5 separate regions of the Homo sapiens genome follow, and all the other regions are linked to region 1. The links are contacts of gene promoters, found by promoter capture Hi-C in blood cells and fetal thymus (Javierre and others, 2016). All regions are on one chromosome and are shown on one strand. Each heading gives the region's core, a stretch centred on a gene start or on the middle of the fragment in contact. The rest is flanking DNA. Distances are from core to core; before and after follow the strand shown. Region 1 holds the start of CES4A (carboxylesterase 4A). Region 2 holds the start of HSD11B2 (hydroxysteroid 11-beta dehydrogenase 2). Region 3 holds the start of TPPP3 (tubulin polymerization promoting protein family member 3). Region 4 holds the start of KCTD19 (potassium channel tetramerization domain containing 19). Region 5 holds the start of PLEKHG4 (pleckstrin homology and RhoGEF domain containing G4).

Evidence for each region. The method cuts DNA at HindIII sites, captures the fragments that hold promoters and counts their contacts. A CHiCAGO score of 5 or more calls a contact.
Region 2: the fragment with the promoter of HSD11B2 here is called in contact with the fragment with the promoter of CES4A in region 1 in 13 of 17 cell types (erythroblasts, neutrophils, total B cells and 10 more); the score reaches 15.2 in erythroblasts.
Region 3: a contact is called between the fragment with the promoter of TPPP3 here and the fragment with the promoter of CES4A in region 1, in 1 of 17 cell types (erythroblasts). The highest score is 5.1, in erythroblasts.
Region 4: the fragment with the promoter of KCTD19 here is called in contact with the fragment with the promoter of CES4A in region 1 in 12 of 17 cell types (erythroblasts, neutrophils, monocytes and 9 more); the score reaches 9.9 in erythroblasts.
Region 5: the fragment with the promoter of PLEKHG4 here is called in contact with the fragment with the promoter of CES4A in region 1 in 2 of 17 cell types (neutrophils and naive CD4 T cells); the score reaches 7.1 in neutrophils.

Annotation. Positions count from the first base shown.
Region 1 is chr16:66,987,042-66,990,037 of GRCh38, forward strand. It overlaps CES4A (carboxylesterase 4A), which reads left to right and starts at 1,548. Exons shown (of 14, transcript NM_001364782.1): 1 at 1,548-1,789. The coding sequence starts at 1,732. The HindIII fragment of the contact is 37,432 bases long and covers 1-2,996 here.
Region 2 is chr16:67,429,554-67,432,549 of GRCh38, forward strand. HSD11B2 (hydroxysteroid 11-beta dehydrogenase 2) reads left to right here and starts at 1,568. Exons shown (of 5, transcript NM_000196.4): 1 at 1,568-1,960. The coding sequence starts at 1,696. RefSeq lists silencers at 1,237-1,286, 1,507-1,686. The HindIII fragment of the contact is 16,145 bases long and covers 1-2,996 here.
Region 3 is chr16:67,391,894-67,394,889 of GRCh38, forward strand. TPPP3 (tubulin polymerization promoting protein family member 3) reads right to left here and starts at 1,605. Exons shown (of 4, transcript NM_015964.4): 1 at 1,487-1,605. ZDHHC1 (zDHHC palmitoyltransferase 1) reads right to left here. Exons shown (of 12, transcript NM_001323627.2): 12 at 2,259-2,996. The coding sequence ends at 2,717. The HindIII fragment of the contact is 5,780 bases long and covers 1-2,996 here.
Region 4 is chr16:67,325,208-67,328,203 of GRCh38, forward strand. It overlaps KCTD19 (potassium channel tetramerization domain containing 19), which reads right to left and starts at 1,534. Exons shown (of 16, transcript NM_001100915.3): 1 at 1,498-1,534. The coding sequence starts at 1,500. LRRC36 (leucine rich repeat containing 36) reads left to right here and starts at 1,608. Exons shown (of 14, transcript NM_018296.6): 1 at 1,608-1,725. The coding sequence starts at 1,656. RefSeq lists a silencer at 1,501-1,650. The HindIII fragment of the contact is 1,968 bases long and covers 539-2,506 here.
Region 5 is chr16:67,277,977-67,280,972 of GRCh38, forward strand. It overlaps PLEKHG4 (pleckstrin homology and RhoGEF domain containing G4), which reads left to right and starts at 1,556. Exons shown (of 22, transcript NM_001129729.3): 1 at 1,556-1,650; 2 at 1,900-2,567; 3 at 2,735-2,830; 4 at 2,906-2,996. The coding sequence starts at 2,069. It overlaps LOC124903701 (a long non-coding RNA gene), which reads right to left and starts at 1,435. Exons shown (of 3, transcript XR_007065092.1): 1 at 1,173-1,435. RefSeq lists silencers at 1,049-1,208, 1,259-1,688, 1,408-1,589. The HindIII fragment of the contact is 13,408 bases long and covers 1-2,996 here.

The DNA.
Region 1 (2,996 bases), core at 298-2,797:
GGTGGGGCAAGGGATATTGGAGGTTTGCCCATGTAGACCCCACAGGATAAGTGGCAGAGGCAGGGGTGGGGGGTCATCTTGGGCCTTCATTAGAGGAGCACAGAGCCCAGGCAGCAATGATTGGGCAGTGAATGCCACATTCCTTGGGACTGAGGAAGGGTCACAAGGATGGGAACTGTGGGAGAGGAGTCCCAAATAAAGAGCATCTCCGAAGAACTCAGAAAATTGACTGTGAAAGAAGGAGGTTTAACCATCTGTCAGGCCTATAGAGCAAGAGGCTGTGGGCCAAGGGAGAAGTTCTCTGTTCCCCTGCCTTTTCCCCTCCCCAGCACAGAAGCCCAACAGACCCTCTTTTCACAAAGATGGGCCAGGACCCCAGACTTTGGGGGTACACGAGAGAGGAAACATCTTACCTTTTTTTTGTTCTTTGAGATGGAGTCTCACTCTGTCGCCCAGGCTGGAGTACAGTGACGCCATCTTGGCTCACTGCAAGCTCCGCCTCCTGGTTTCAAGCAATTCTCTTGCCTCAGCCTCCTGAGTAGCTGGAACTACGGGCGCGTGCCACCACGCCCGGATAATTTTTTGTATTTTTAGTAGGGACGGGGTGTTAGCCAGGATGGTCTCGATCTTCTGACCTCGTGACCCGCCTGCCTCAGCCTCCCAAAGTGTTGGGATTACAGGCATGAGCCACCGTGCCTGGCCTATTTATTTTTGAGACAGGGTCTCACTCTGTCACCCAGGCTGGAGTGCAGTGGCCCGATCTCGGCTCACTACAACCTCCGCCTCCCAGGTTCAAGCCATCCTCCTGCCTCAGCCTCCTGAGTAGCTGGGACTACAGGCACACACTACCACGCCCAGCTAATTTTTGTATTCTTTGTTTTAGTAGAGACGGGGTTTCACCATGTTGGCCAGGCTGGTCTCGAACTCCTGACCTCAGGTGATCCACCTGCCTCAGCCTTCCAAAGTGCTGGTATTACAGGCATGAGCCACCACACCCAGCCCCATCTTACCTTTGACTGAAGATGGGACTGCTGTCTCCTTGCTTCCACCTCCCACACTTGCTCCTGTGGCTCCAAACTTCAAACAGGATCTTTCTTTGCCTGGCCCACTCCTCCTCATCCTTTACTTAGAAGATTAGATCTTTTCCAGGGAATCTTCATTCCCACCACCCGGCTCTGGGCTCACTCCTCGGGTGCCCCTCTGGGCTCCCACATTACGGTTGCTTTCAGGTCCAGCTTCCGCATGTGGACTATGAAACTGTGAGGACAGCCAAGGGTCAGCATGTGCGAGGAAAGGCAGGGAAGAGGCTAGACGAGGCACTGGGGAGCAGGGAGGCCCAAGACCCTTAAATCCACAGACAGGAAGCCCTGGCTGAAGGGCCAAGTAACCAGGTGTTCTACTTCAATCTTGGCACCCACTGTATGCTTAGACCTTGACTCACACATGTTCAGCTTTAAGCCACTGCACAGATGAGCAAACGGGGCGGAGATTGCAGGCTGATCAGTTTGAAGAGCCAAGATCATCTAGCGTGACCTGTTGCCCAAGGCAGAGACAAGGCTGTGGGCTGGTCAGAAGCTGGTTACAATTCCTCCCGCCCCAGTACTTGCTGGCAGGGATTAAGAGCAGATAAAAGTGTGCTCACACACTGTAGACACGGCTACCATGCCATCCACAGTGTTGCCATCCACAGTGTTGCCATCACTCCTGCCCACAGCAGGAGCTGGCTGGAGCATGAGGTGGATTCTGTGCTGGAGCCTCACCCTCTGCCTGATGGCGCAGACGGCCTTGGGTAAGACCCCCACCCCTTCCCGAGAGTGTCAGGCAAGACGGGCACAAGGGATGGAGGGACAGGCCCCAGTTCAACCTCTCCTGGGGACAGCAGGGCAGGAGCACTTAGACAAGGCCTGGGCAAATGGAGGGTAGGGTTTCAGGACACTAAACCATCTACCAGCTGGGAGTCTGGACAAGTCCTTTAGCCTCCCTGAACCTCAGGGCTTCTCTGTATTTCCTGCCTCCCGGCACAGGTGAAGGGGTCTGAGAACATGGCCACATCTTTTCTTCCTTCCCACCTTTTTCCTTCCTTCCATCCTTCTTTCCTTCTCCTAAGCAGGAGGCCTGTCTCTGCCCCCTCTCTGCTACATGAACCTCTTTACCACCTTCAAATTTCTCCCCAATATCTTTCTTTTTAAAATGAGTACTACACTTTTTACTGTGAAAACAATCTAATACATTAACAAAAGTTTACTGAGGTATAAGATGTATACAGCAAGGTGCACACATCTTCACTGTATAATTATATCTATTATACTAATTATTATATATATATATATGGTAACCATTATCCAGATCAACATCTAGAACATTTCCAGTGGGTTAGGCATGGTAGCTCATGCCTGTAATTCCAGCACTTTGAGAGGCTGAGGTGGGAGGATTACTTGAGCCCAGGAGTTTGAGACCAGCCTGGGCAAATAGTGAGACCTAGCCTGGGTAAATAGACTCTGTCTCTATTTTTAAAAAACATTTTTTAAAAAGTTTTTTTAACTTACAAGGATACACCTGTAATCCCAGCACTTTGGGAGGCCGAAGCGGGCAGATCACCTGAGGTCAGGAGTTTGAGACCAGCCTAACCAATATTATTACCCCGTCTCTACTAAAAATACAAAACTAGCCAGGCATGGTGGCACATGCCTGTAATCCCAGCTACTCAGGAGGCTGAGGCAGGAGAATCGCTTGAAGCCAGGAGGCAGAGGTTGTAGTGAGCCGAGATCGTGCCATTGCACTCCAGCCTGGGCAACAAGAGCGAAACTCTATCTCAAAAAAAAAAACAAAAAACCATCTCCAGCGTCCCATGTACTCCTTCTCAGTCAATACTCAAAGTTACCACTAGTCTGACCTCTATCATAAATAAATTTTGCCCATATATACATATATCCATTATTTTAAATTTGAAGGAAACTTTGCTTACTCCGCTTTTAACATTTTGGCGCATTTTCTTT
Region 2 (2,996 bases), core at 318-2,817, 440 kb after region 1:
CAAATGGCCTGGACAAGCCACAGAGTCCCATGGACACAAGTGCTTACAAACACAGGCACACAAGGTCATGTACCCAAGGTCAGGCACACACACCCTCCTCATTCAAGTCCTGCCTCCCAGGTCTGGGGCTTGCCTGTCATCTGTCCTTAGGAGGAGGGATAGGTGGAGGCACAGGAGTGGCTCAGGGCAAATTGGTCCTCCACCCAGAGACTCTCCCTTTAGGTGGGTCTGGCTCCCAGCCTCCCCTGAGATTTCCCTGGCTCACCAGGGGGCTGTGTCTGGTGGCAGAGAGGGCTTTGGAGGAGGCATTGCCCTGAAACCCTGGCAGAGCCTGGGCACCTAAGAGAGAATGAGCAACAGGGCTAGGAAGTGTGACAGGGAGTCCACAACCTCCCAGGATCTTGGGAGGGCAGGGATGAGGCACTGAGCACGGCCTGGAAGCCCACGGGAAGCAGGGACCCCTCTGTCGAGGGCTACACCTACTGCTCTCAGCATCAAGCCTGCAGCCAGGTACTGGCACCAACTCCCAGTGCCTGGCAGAGCCCTGGCATGGATGCTAGGCACAGGGTGCCAGACACGGGGGTGGGCAGGGTGGGGGGCCACTGGGCCACACACAAGCATGGAGACCTTCACACACGCAGGCAGAAAAATCCACCCACACTCATACCACTTATTTTACCCCCTGGGGGTTCAGGGGAGCAAGGCAGGGACCACCCTGTCCTAGAGGCTGCCTTCACCGACGTCCCTCTGGCCTGGCTCTTGGGGTTGGCGGGGGTGGGCCATAAGTAATGGGAGACCTAGGTGCTTCCTCTGACACCCCACCCTCCACTGACCCCCACACACATACATTTGTGAGGCAGGAAGTGGGGTTGTGCGTCCCCAGGTTTAAGCCCTGGAAGGAAAGGGAAAGACGGGGCAGAGACTCCAAGAACCGGGAGCGGTCGTCCTGTTCCCCCGCCAGCCCCTGTCCCAGGCAGGTTTTGTGGCCGCGAGCTGCTCAGGGGTGAGCGCGCCTTAGGGTGTGTGCGCCAGGGACCTGGCGCAGCCGACCACGTGGGAGTGCGGCGCGTGTACGGGCGCGGGCGGCAGCGGCAGCGGCAGCGGAGACCGGGTGAGCACCGGCTGGTTCCTCGCGGTGTTCCTGCAGGCTTGGCGGCCGCGGTGGTGCGATCAGCAAAGGGCACCGGGATGCCGGTTGTGCGTGTCCTCAGGTGTCCCGAACAAGCGTGAGTGGCATGTGCTCACCTGAGCGCGGCGGCTTGGCGGCCCCGGGCGTGTGGGTGGGGGCGCGGCGGAGAGCTGAGGCCGGGCACCCGGGCTGGACCGACGGGCCCTCTCCCAAGCACCGCCCGCAGCCAGGCGGCTCCTCGAGCGCAGCAACTTTGGGACTTTGTTCCGGCTTTTTCCAAATCGAATCTGGTCGAGGGGGCGGGGCGGGGGGGGAGCACCTGCCCTGCGGGGGGTGCCGGGAGAGAAGTGAAGGAAAGCCCCGCCCCCGCCCCTCCCGCTCCCCGCCCTCTCCCCCGCCCCCGGGGCTCTTCATAAGCTCGGCCCGAGGGCGAGCAGAGAAAGCGAGTGTCCCTCTCGCGCCCCAGGCCGGTGTACCCCCGCACTCCGCGCCCCGGCCTAGAAGCTCTCTCTCCCCGCTCCCCGGCCCGGCCCCCGCCCCGCCCCGCCCCAGCCCGCTGGGCCGCCATGGAGCGCTGGCCTTGGCCGTCGGGCGGCGCCTGGCTGCTCGTGGCTGCCCGCGCGCTGCTGCAGCTGCTGCGCTCAGACCTGCGTCTGGGCCGCCCGCTGCTGGCGGCGCTGGCGCTGCTGGCCGCGCTCGACTGGCTGTGCCAGCGCCTGCTGCCCCCGCCGGCCGCACTCGCCGTGCTGGCCGCCGCCGGCTGGATCGCGTTGTCCCGCCTGGCGCGCCCGCAGCGCCTGCCGGTGGCCACTCGCGCGGTGCTCATCACCGGTGAGTGCGCGGGTCGCGGAGCGCGGGGACTCCAGGCTCGAGGGCGGGACTGGACACTCAACAGGACTGACTCCCCATGGGCACAGCCAAGGCGGGCTCCTCAGCGCAAGAGTGGGAGAGTTCTCCACCCCTGGGTGCAGGGAGCGAGCCAAATAGGGAGCGCCGGGCACCTCCCCAAGCCCGGGTTCACTACCTGCCGCTGCGGGGAGTGTTGGAGGGAAAGTGAGACAGGGAGTGGGCCGGTTCGAGAAGGAAACTGACTGGTGGCTGAGAAGAGGGAACCTCCTGGAGTTTGAGAGTTTATGCCATTCCCTTCCCCAAGAGAGCAGTCTCAGGGGACTTCGGAGGCCTTGAGAAGGGAGGATCGTTACCCCTTGAACTCTGCCTGACATCCCCACCTAAGATACCCATCTCCCATTCCTCGGGCCAGAGGGAAGAGCTTAGATGGGGAACTTCCCCACCCCACCCATCCCCCACTGGCTGGGATCCTTGGAGTTCAGAAAAGCTAGAGGTCACCGTGAGGGGCAGCTGGACATTCAGCTGTCTTTCTGTCTAGCCACCCACTGCCAAACTGCTGAGGCAGTAGTTTGGAGCCTACACCCAGCACCCCACCCCCAAGCCCTCCTGGTCCTCTGTGCCCAGGAAGGAGCTCTTAGAGAGCTGGGCTCAGGTGCCTCTGGCCGCCTAGCTGAGCTCCTTTGTCTGGAGCAGGGAATAAATCTGTCACCAGAGGGAGGGAAGGGGAAGGGGGGGGGGGGCTGGAGGCCCGCCGGAAGTGGGGAGGGGGAGAAAGGCCAGGGGGCACTGACTCCATTGCATCGTGGGAGGAGCAGCCTGGTCTCTCGCCAATACCCACGGCTTTGGACAGGTGCTCCAGGCTTTGTCCTTGCGCTGGGCCTTTGCTGGGGCAGCCAGCAACCTGGCTTCTCAGAGACCTCGGTCTAGTAGGGGCCCTGTGTGATCAGATGGGGCTGGGAGAATTTTCCGGAGGAGGAAATCCTTGAGTGGGGCCTTGGAGCATGAGTGGAGATAAGTG
Region 3 (2,996 bases), core at 355-2,854, 400 kb after region 1:
CTAGGGCATAACCGTGGCTTCCTGGCCCCTTGCCACCGACTGGTGCTGTAACCTCCCACTGTGGAGTTTTGGGGGAGCAGGAGGTTGGGGGCTAGTAGCGTGGGGGCTGTAGAGTTACGAACCCCAAGAGTCGTGCTGGCAAGTGGGGCTGTGGCTGAAACACACTTCATCATGTCTACACCTCAGACCTCCCCTGGCCACGCCCTGAACTTGGCCACACCAGCCCACATTCCCAGCGACCCTGTGCACTCAGCCCTGGCCTGCCACCCCCTGGGCCTTGTACCCCTGGCCATACCTTCAGCCCTCCATCCTCCATCTTCACACCCACAGCCACAGCCCTCGGCCACCAGCCCCCACATATATACTAACAAGCCTGCGCCAACCCCAGTAATACCCACAGTCCAGCACTAAAGTGCCCCCCACACCCACAGCCCTCCGCTGCAGACCCCTGGCCACACCCTGAGCCTACACAGCAGCCTTCTCCATCCCCACACCCGCAGCCCTGGGGCTGAGGCCCCTGGCCACAAACCTGCATCCCTTCCTGAGACCCCTGACCATAGCCTCAGCCACTCACCCCCTCCAATACCCGCAGCCCTTTATCAAGGCGCCCTGACCCTCAGCACCCCTTTGTCCACACACCCTCAGCCCTCTGGCCACACCCTCAGCCTGCACTGAAGGCCCCAGTCCACATCCACACACTAACATTATAAGACTCCCAGGTACTATGCGGAGATCCCCTGCGTAGAGACCTCCCCACCACATCCCCCTCCTCCACTGCCACCTCCTGACCACACCCTCGGTCTCAGCAACCATCTTCTAGCTCTGCCTTTTACACTAGGGCTTCCAGTGACCACGGCCTGGGCTCTGCCCGGCTGCCCCATCTTCCACCAAAAACTCCTCGCCAGTGACCACACTCCCATCCCTAAGTGGCAGTTTCTGGGACTGTGAGCACCGGTGGTTCCTACGTTACAGGGACCATAACCCCAGTCCACGCTGCACTCCCCTTCCCTTTCCCTGGGTGCAACCTCCCACCAGGGACCCCAAGACCCGCACTTGGTTCACCAAGGGTAACGTCCAGGGGAGCTTGGATGCCACAGGGTGCTTGGCCCAAGCACTGGGCGGATCCTGCGTGCAGTGCTCACTCCTGTCCGTGGAAAGATGGATTCTTGGTCATCTCAGCGCGGTCAGGTGGCGCTGGGTTGCAGGCCGCAGCCCCATGGGTCTGCAGGCCATGGATGGAGTGGCCACACCCGTGAACTGGAGCCACCCGTCCCGCTCCCACTGGGACAGCTGGAGTCATCAATCAGCCGGACCAGGAGGTGGGGGCTGCGAGGTGGAATGCTTGGGGCCAGGGCAGGGCCGCTCAGCTGGCTCCTCGGCTGGGACCGCCGGAGGTTGGGACCCTTTCCAGGCTGCTCCCCCCAACCCTCATCGTGCAGGATACTGATTGGGGTGGCGGGCATCTGGGTCTCCTATGGGCTTCTACCTCGCGGCTGCTCCTGAAGTGTGCGTTCGGAAGGACAGAACGACGCAGGAATGGACCGATGGACGCGGGAGACCAGGCGGCTCCGCAGCTCCGCTCCCTGCCGGCTCCCGGGTGGGACTGCAGCCCAGGCGGCTCCGCCGTATTATCCCCTGTTTCTCGGTCTCCATAGAGACGGCGAGTCCCACCCCCGAGGCTGTCTCGGCGGGAGAGTGACCAAGGTCACGCCGGCCCCGCCCACGAGGCCCCGCCCTCCCCGAGACTCTCCGGGAGCCGCATCCCGCCCCTCCCCCGCAACTCCGCGGTCCTCGCGACGGCGAGACCAGCGCTCTGCAGTTCGGGGCGTCTTCGGACGGCCCCCTGAGGAAACAGCCTCCCATCCTGGGATGTGCCTAAAGCTCTAAGCGGCCCCAATCTCCAGAAGAGATCCAGCTCCCCAGAGAGTCAACCAGAGGCCACTGGGGAGCTGCGCGGGGCATTGGTGGGGCTTGGGGAATCGGGAAGGAGCTCTCCCTCAGTGACAGGGGTATACGGTTGACTCAAGAGCACTGCCATCCACTGAACGGATGGCACCCCCAGGCCACAACTCCCGTGCTCTCTTGGGTAGGATTCAGAGCCTGGAGCAGTGGGGAAGAAGGGAGGGGACTCCCTACGAGCGAATCGCGCTCGCCCAGCCCCAGGATGCTGGCATTCGACGGCAGCCCTGCTGCCGGGGAAAAGCTGCGGGACCTCCTGGCTCGGCCCCCTCCTTTCGCCGCCACCTCCCCACGGCCTCGCAGCCTCAGCGCCCACTGCTGCTTTCGGAGCCCAAAGCCTGCTTTCTCTCGGCCTCCCAGTGCAAAGCCCATCTTTAAGAAAAATAACCTCCTCCAGGCCGCCTTCTAAGGCCTTTCCTAACCACGAGCCGCACGTGAGCACCTCCACAGGGCAGCCTGGGTGGCTACCTACTATACAGGGACCTCCTCCCCGCCCCCGGTCCACTGGCCAGGGTCGGGCTTCTGGATGGCCCGTGGCCCCTGCCATTAAGAAAGTAAGCGCGACGTCCGCAAAAGCATAAAAAAGTTTATTGGAGCATCACAGCCGGTGGGGCGGGTATTGCTGAGTCGTGGGGGAGGGAGGCCGATCCCGCCGGCCGTAGGGGCCCCTAAAGTGCACTCGGTGCGGCAAGGATGGGGTGTTGCATAGAGAGTCAGGCCGGCCGCTCTAACTCGGCCCTCCGGCCTCTCGGCCCAGCTAAGCCAGACCAGCCTCCCGGCCGCCCGGCGCCCTGGGCTCGCCGCTGCTCGGGCTCACGAAAACGGCGGGCGCACGCGCCTGCCGCGCCAGCGTGGGCTGTCGGCCCCGGCCCCGCGGGGCGGCCAGAGCGGCGCTGCCCAGGCGCGTCTGCGCCACTGGAATCTCGTCCACGGACTCTGCCGACGCCGAGTGGTAGGCGCCGGCAGGGCCAGCGGCGTGCACAGGGCTGGCGTCCGCGGAATCCGTCGACGAGCTGGAGCGGCGGCTGGGGGCCCTA
Region 4 (2,996 bases), core at 284-2,783, 340 kb after region 1:
TTTTTTTTTTTTTTTGAGACGGAGTCTCGCTCTCTAGCCCAGGCTGGAGTGCAGTGGCACGATTTTGGCTCACTGCAAGCTCCACCTCCCGGGTTTACGCCATTCTCCTGCCTCAGCCTCCAGCCTCCTCAAGTAGCTGGGACTACAGGCGCCCGCCACCACGCCCGGCTTTATTTTATTTTATTTTATTTTATTTTGTTTTATTTTTGTATTTTTAGTAGAGATGGGGTTTCACTGTGTTAGCCAGGATGGTCTCGATCTCCTGACCTCGTGATCCACATGCTTCGGCCTCCCAAAGTGCTGGGATTACAGACGTGAGCCACCACGCCCAGCCCACCCTCTTTTCTTGTTAAGGATAGGGTGTGACAAGAGGGTCCTGGCTCCTTCTTACATACATGTCCCATCCACAGGTGGGCTCTTAAGTGCCTGCTGGAGTGAGGGTAGGGGTTAGGGATGCGGCTGTTCTTTCCCAAAGACTACTCAGGGGCTGGTTAGTGCAGAGCTATCGCAGCCTGGCGACAGCCCTCAGTCACAGGCAAGCTTAGGGGAACCTGTGGTGCTTGAAAGACAAAAGGCTTCTTGCCGGACTGACTTCAGGAAACGGGGTAGCCCTAAAGCAGTCATCCCCACCCCATTACAAAGAGCTTCTCTCTTTCCCACGCTGATCCTTCTCCCCCGAAGAAGCTCCGTCCAAGTAAATTTCTTACCTTTTTTTTTTTTTTTTTTTTGAGACAAGGTCTGGCTCTGTCACTCAGGTCGCCCAGGCTGGAGTGCAGTGGTGCAATCTCGGTTCACTGCAACCTCCACCTCCCGGGTTCAAGCGATTCTCCTGCCTCAGCCTCCCGAGTAGCTGGGACTACAGGCCGTGCCACCACACCCGGCTAATTTTTGTATTTTTAGTAGAGATGGGGTTTCACCATGTTGGCCAGGCTGGTCTTGAACTCTTGACCTCAGGTGATCCGCCCACCTCGGGCTCCCAAAGTGCTGGGATTACAGGCGTGAGACACCGCGCCCAGCCCGTCCAAGTCAATTTCTAGAGCTAGAACTTCCTCATGCTCTAAAGACAGGACCCCAACTCCTCAGAGCCAGGATTCCCAACCTTTCAGATCTGGAGCTCCCCATCATGCCTTAGAGTTCTGTCCCCACGCTCCAATCCTTCAGATTTGGATCTCCCCTTCACACACACCCTCGCCTTGCCCCAAAGTCAGCATCCCCCAGCGCTGAGATATGAAGACCACCCCGTCAAAGGGGCACACGCCCAGCCCTCAGAACCGGAGTCCCCCACATCCTCAGAGCCAGAACACTTCATCCCTCAAGACAGAGCGTTATTCTAACTCCTCAGAGCCAGCCCCCCAAATCCTTCCCGGCTGGGGGCCCCTCGCTCTCTCCCATGCCCCAGAGCCAGGTCTCGAACCACTTAGCCCCAATCCTTGGCCACAGCGGCCCCCATTCGCCGCTTTGGTGCTTTTGGCGCCCCCGCCAGAGCGGGCTCCGTACCATGGTCGCGGCTCCAGCAGCGGGCGGGCGGGCTTGTGACCCGGCCAATAACGGTTCCCGGGGTCGCGGCGGCGCGCGCGCGGGGGGCGGGGCAGTGGGCGGGGCCTGGCGTGCGCCGGGTGGTCTCGCGGGCGGTGGCAGGTGAGCGGCGGGCGGGGATGGCGGAGCAATGGGAGCTGGACGAGGAAGGCATTCGCCGCCTGGGGGCGCTGACGCTGGAGCAGCCGGGTAGGGTCTGGCCGGGAGGGTGTGGACTGGGAACGTAGGGTCAGAAGCTGTGGAAAGAAAACTGAAGTGGAAGGCGGGGAACCTGAGATAGAGGCGAGGGAACCACAGAGAAGCGGTACCTGAGGCTGGGGGGCGGGGGGATAACTTGAGGCAGAAGGTTAGAGGGAGGTGGAGGTGGAGGAACTGAAGTAACGGGAGGGTGTGGGGCAGAGCCCGAGGAATTGAGAGAGAAGAGGGGAGTGTGAAGTAGGGAAGGAGAAACAAGGTTAACAGGGGACCCTGCCGCAGGTGACAGAACTGCGGGGGGCGGTGGCTGACCGCTGTAATCCCAGCACTTTGGGAGGCGGAGGCGGGTGGATCACCTGAGCGTGGCCAACATGGTGAAACCCCGTCTCTACTAAAATACAAAAATTAGCCCGGCGTGGTGGTTCAAGTCTATAATCCCAGCTACTCGGGAGGCTGAGGCAGGAGAATCGCTTGAACCCGGGAGGCGGAGGTTGCAGTTAGCCGAGATCGCACCACTGCACTGCAGCCTGGGCGACAGAGCGAGACTCCATCTCAAAAATAATAATAATAAATAAAATAAATAAATAATAAAATGTCTATTAGACATCCAAGTGTAAGGTACCTAGTAGGCAGTTGGATATATGGGTCTGGACCTCAGAGGAGAGGTCAGGGTTAGAGATGAAAATTTTGGAGACATTAGCAATAGGTGGTATTTAAAGCTACGGGAGTGGATGAACTCAGCTAAGGAGAGAATGTCGATGGAGAAGTGAAAGAAAGCTTAAGACTCAACCTTGGAATATTTCAGTGTTTAGAGGTTGTATAGAGGAAGAATGTGGTATCTTGGAATTTGAGAAGGGGTAGTGTATCGAGCAAGCAATGGCCAACTGTGCCAAATGCTATTGACAGGCTGAGCAACTTAAATGCAGAGTGTCTGTTAGATTTAGCAACATGGAACTTACTGGTGACCTTGACAGAGGGAGTTTTGGGAGGGTGGGGAGGAGGGAAACCAGATTGGAGTGGGATGAAAAAGGGAAATGATATTTGAGGGGAAGAGACAGTGAAAGTAAGAACTTTTGCTGAAAATTTTAGCTGTAAAAGAGACTGCAGAAATAGATGGTAGCTGAAGCGTATGATGTGCAGTCAAGAACAGAACAGGAAGGATATACTAGAGCATGTCGGTAGTCTAATGATTAATTTGGTAGAGGGGGGAAATATGTAATATTTACTCATTTTGACTGTTAAAATAATTCAATTAATTTATTCTG
Region 5 (2,996 bases), core at 306-2,805, 290 kb after region 1:
TTTGCCTCTGGCATTCACAGGGGTATGTGTGCCCGCCAGCAGGTCCCCCCCGGCTCTTAGGGCTCCTGGGGGACTTGGCTGGTGGGTGCTGGTGGGCAGCAGAAGGGGAGGGAGGGAGCAGAAGGCAGTGACTCAGTGGGGGTGGCCCTGGGACAGAACTGGGGAGGAAGCCAAGGTTGGATGATGCTTCCTGAAGCCAGGAGGGTGGGAAGAGAGGTCTGGCTGGGAGTTAGGGATGGAGCAGGACAACTCCAAGGCTCCCCTCTGGCAGCCAGACCTGCTCATGAAGAAGGCTCCTCGGTAGCTGCCTGAAAGTCTGGACTCTGGGGGCTGGGCTGGGCTGGGTGGGGAGATTGCTGTTGGTCCCACTGTGCCTGTTGTAATCCCCAGGTTCATGAAAGAGGTGCCTGCCTTAGAGCCAGGGAAGCCGTTGCACCCGGTGCCCCCTCTCCCCAGGGACCATGGGCCTGGGCACACTGTGGGGCTCAGGGTCTTCTCCTGGTCGCAGAGCTGACCTTCCCACAATCTTCCCACAAATTCTGGGGAGTGTCGGGCCAGGCCCACATGCCCTAAAGGGACCTCAAATCGCACAGCTACCCACTTGGGTAGCTTTCATCAGTTCAGGATTCCCTGACTGCGGGTGAAATGAGGGGGCAGGGCACCAACACAGCCCGAGTGCTGGCAGCGGGTGAACGTATAACACAGGGAGTCTTCCCCAGTCCTCACGGCAACCCCAGGAGAAAAATGACTTTCCATTTTTACAGGTGAGGAGGGTGAGGCTCAAAGAGCAGAGTTCCTGGAGCGCCCCCAGCAGGTAAGTGGAGAAGCCAGGCCTGGGCTGGGGGCTCTGGCTCCAGAACCCCACCTCAGCACCAGCCTCCTGCACCGGACTTTGTGGAGAAGGGGGTAAGGGGGTGCCAGGGATGGCAAAGGGGTAGAGGATCTGGTGGACTCTGGCAGGCCTGGGTCAGCTCCACCCATTGGTCTCACTCCCACCCGGATGGCAGCCCCATCCCACGTGGGATCATGCGACCTGTCTCTGGGTGCCCGCGGCGAGGCAGCACCCCGCTTCCCTACACAGAAGGCCTTCCCCTCCCGTCGGCTCATTCAGCCGCGGAAGCCCCTGGGAGACCCCGCCCCGCCCCGTCCCGCGGTGCCCCCCGCGCACTCACCCTCGCTCACCCACGCGGCCTTCCTGGCGGGAGAGCGCTTCCGGCGTCCTCGCCAGGCCCGGGGAGTGGGCACGGTGGAGCTGCCGACCGTTGGTCGCTGCCCCAACCCACGCACTGCGACGCCGCGGGTGAGGCGCGCGGTCTGCGGGGCCCGGGGGTGCGGCGGGGCGGGGCTGGCGGGCTGTCCGGGCCCACGGAGAGGACGGCGGCGGGCGGGGGTTGCTGCAGGGCCCGCACCTTGTCTTCCGCGCCGGCAGGGCTGTGCCCCGTCGAGACCTGCTCGGGCTGTGGCTCCGTCCTCCGGCCTCCAGGGGGCGGCGCGGCGCTGCGCGGCGCCCCGGCGGCACTGCCCTCCCTTCCCAGCGGCCAGGAGGCGGTGTCCCGTGACGCCGCGCGGCCGCGCTGTAGTGGCCGTCGAGGCCGCCGTCTGTTCGAAGGCTGTCCGACTTCACGGTTCCCCGCGGCTCGGCCCGGGGGCGTGAGTGTCGCCAGCGGGCGACGGGGGGGCGCGCGGTAGGCCCTGCAACAAGGCCAGGGCCTGGGGGGGCCGGCAGGAGAGCGAACCCGAGGCATCGTGGTGCCATGGCGGGGCCGCCCCCACGGGCATGGGCCTGCAGAGCGTGGCCGTGAGGACGCTGAGGGTGGGCGCGCACGGAGCAGAGGCCCACGGGCGTCCGACGGGGGACCTGGACAGAGGGACACCCTTAACGTTATTCCCTCTTCCCAGGCCTGAATTGCAGTTCCTGTGCCCTGGCACTAAGACTGGCACCTCCTGCGGCCCATGCCCTTCGCCTGCATTGCCCACTGAGTCCCACTCGACTGTCTTCAGCGCGGTTCACACTGAGACCCAGCCCTCTCCCGCTGGCCCCGAGCAGGCCCACCTTTAGGAGGGCGTGATGGAAAGGCCCCTGGAGAATGGGGATGAGTCCCCAGACTCTCAGGGCCATGCCACCGACTGGAGATTTGCTGTGTGCAGTTTCAGGGATGCCTGGGAAGAGGAGGAACCTGCTTCCCAGATGCACGTTAAGGACCCAGGTCCTCCAAGACCACCAGCCGGGGCCACCCAGGATGAGGAGCTACAGGGCAGCCCCTTGTCCAGGAAATTCCAGTTACCCCCAGCTGCAGATGAGTCGGGGGATGCCCAGAGGGGCACAGTAGAAAGCTCCTCAGTCCTGTCAGAAGGGCCAGGCCCCTCTGGAGTGGAGAGTCTCCTATGCCCCATGTCCTCCCACCTCAGCTTGGCACAGGGTGAGAGTGACACCCCAGGGGTAGGGTTGGTAGGGGACCCAGGTCCAAGCAGGGCGATGCCATCTGGCTTGAGCCCTGGGGCATTGGACAGCGACCCTGTGGGCCTTGGAGACCCTTTATCAGAAATATCAAAGCTGCTGGAGGCAGGTAAGGAAGGCTGGGCTAGGGAAGTCTGGGAAGGGAATGGGGATGCCTGGAGAGATGAGTGTCAAGACTTTGGAGGTCTCTGACCCTACTCAGGCTGAAGCCCGGGTCCAAGTAGGGGTCTCTGGATAGGTGGTCCAAGGCAGACCCAAGTCATTTCCCTTCCCAAGCCCCCAGTGGATCCGGCCTCCCTAAGCCTGCTGACTGCCTCCTGGCCCAAGACCTCTGTTGGGAGCTGCTGGCCAGTGGTATGGCCACCTTGCCAGGTAGCCAGGCGGGCCTAGAGGCGGTGGAGGTGGAGTGGCCCAATACGGCAGGAGTTCACTGCTTCCTCCCCACAGGGACTCGGGATGTCCAAGGCCGGGCAGTGCTGCTTCTGTGTGCCCACAGCCCAGCCTGGCTTCAGTCTGAGTGCAGCAGCCAGGAACTCAT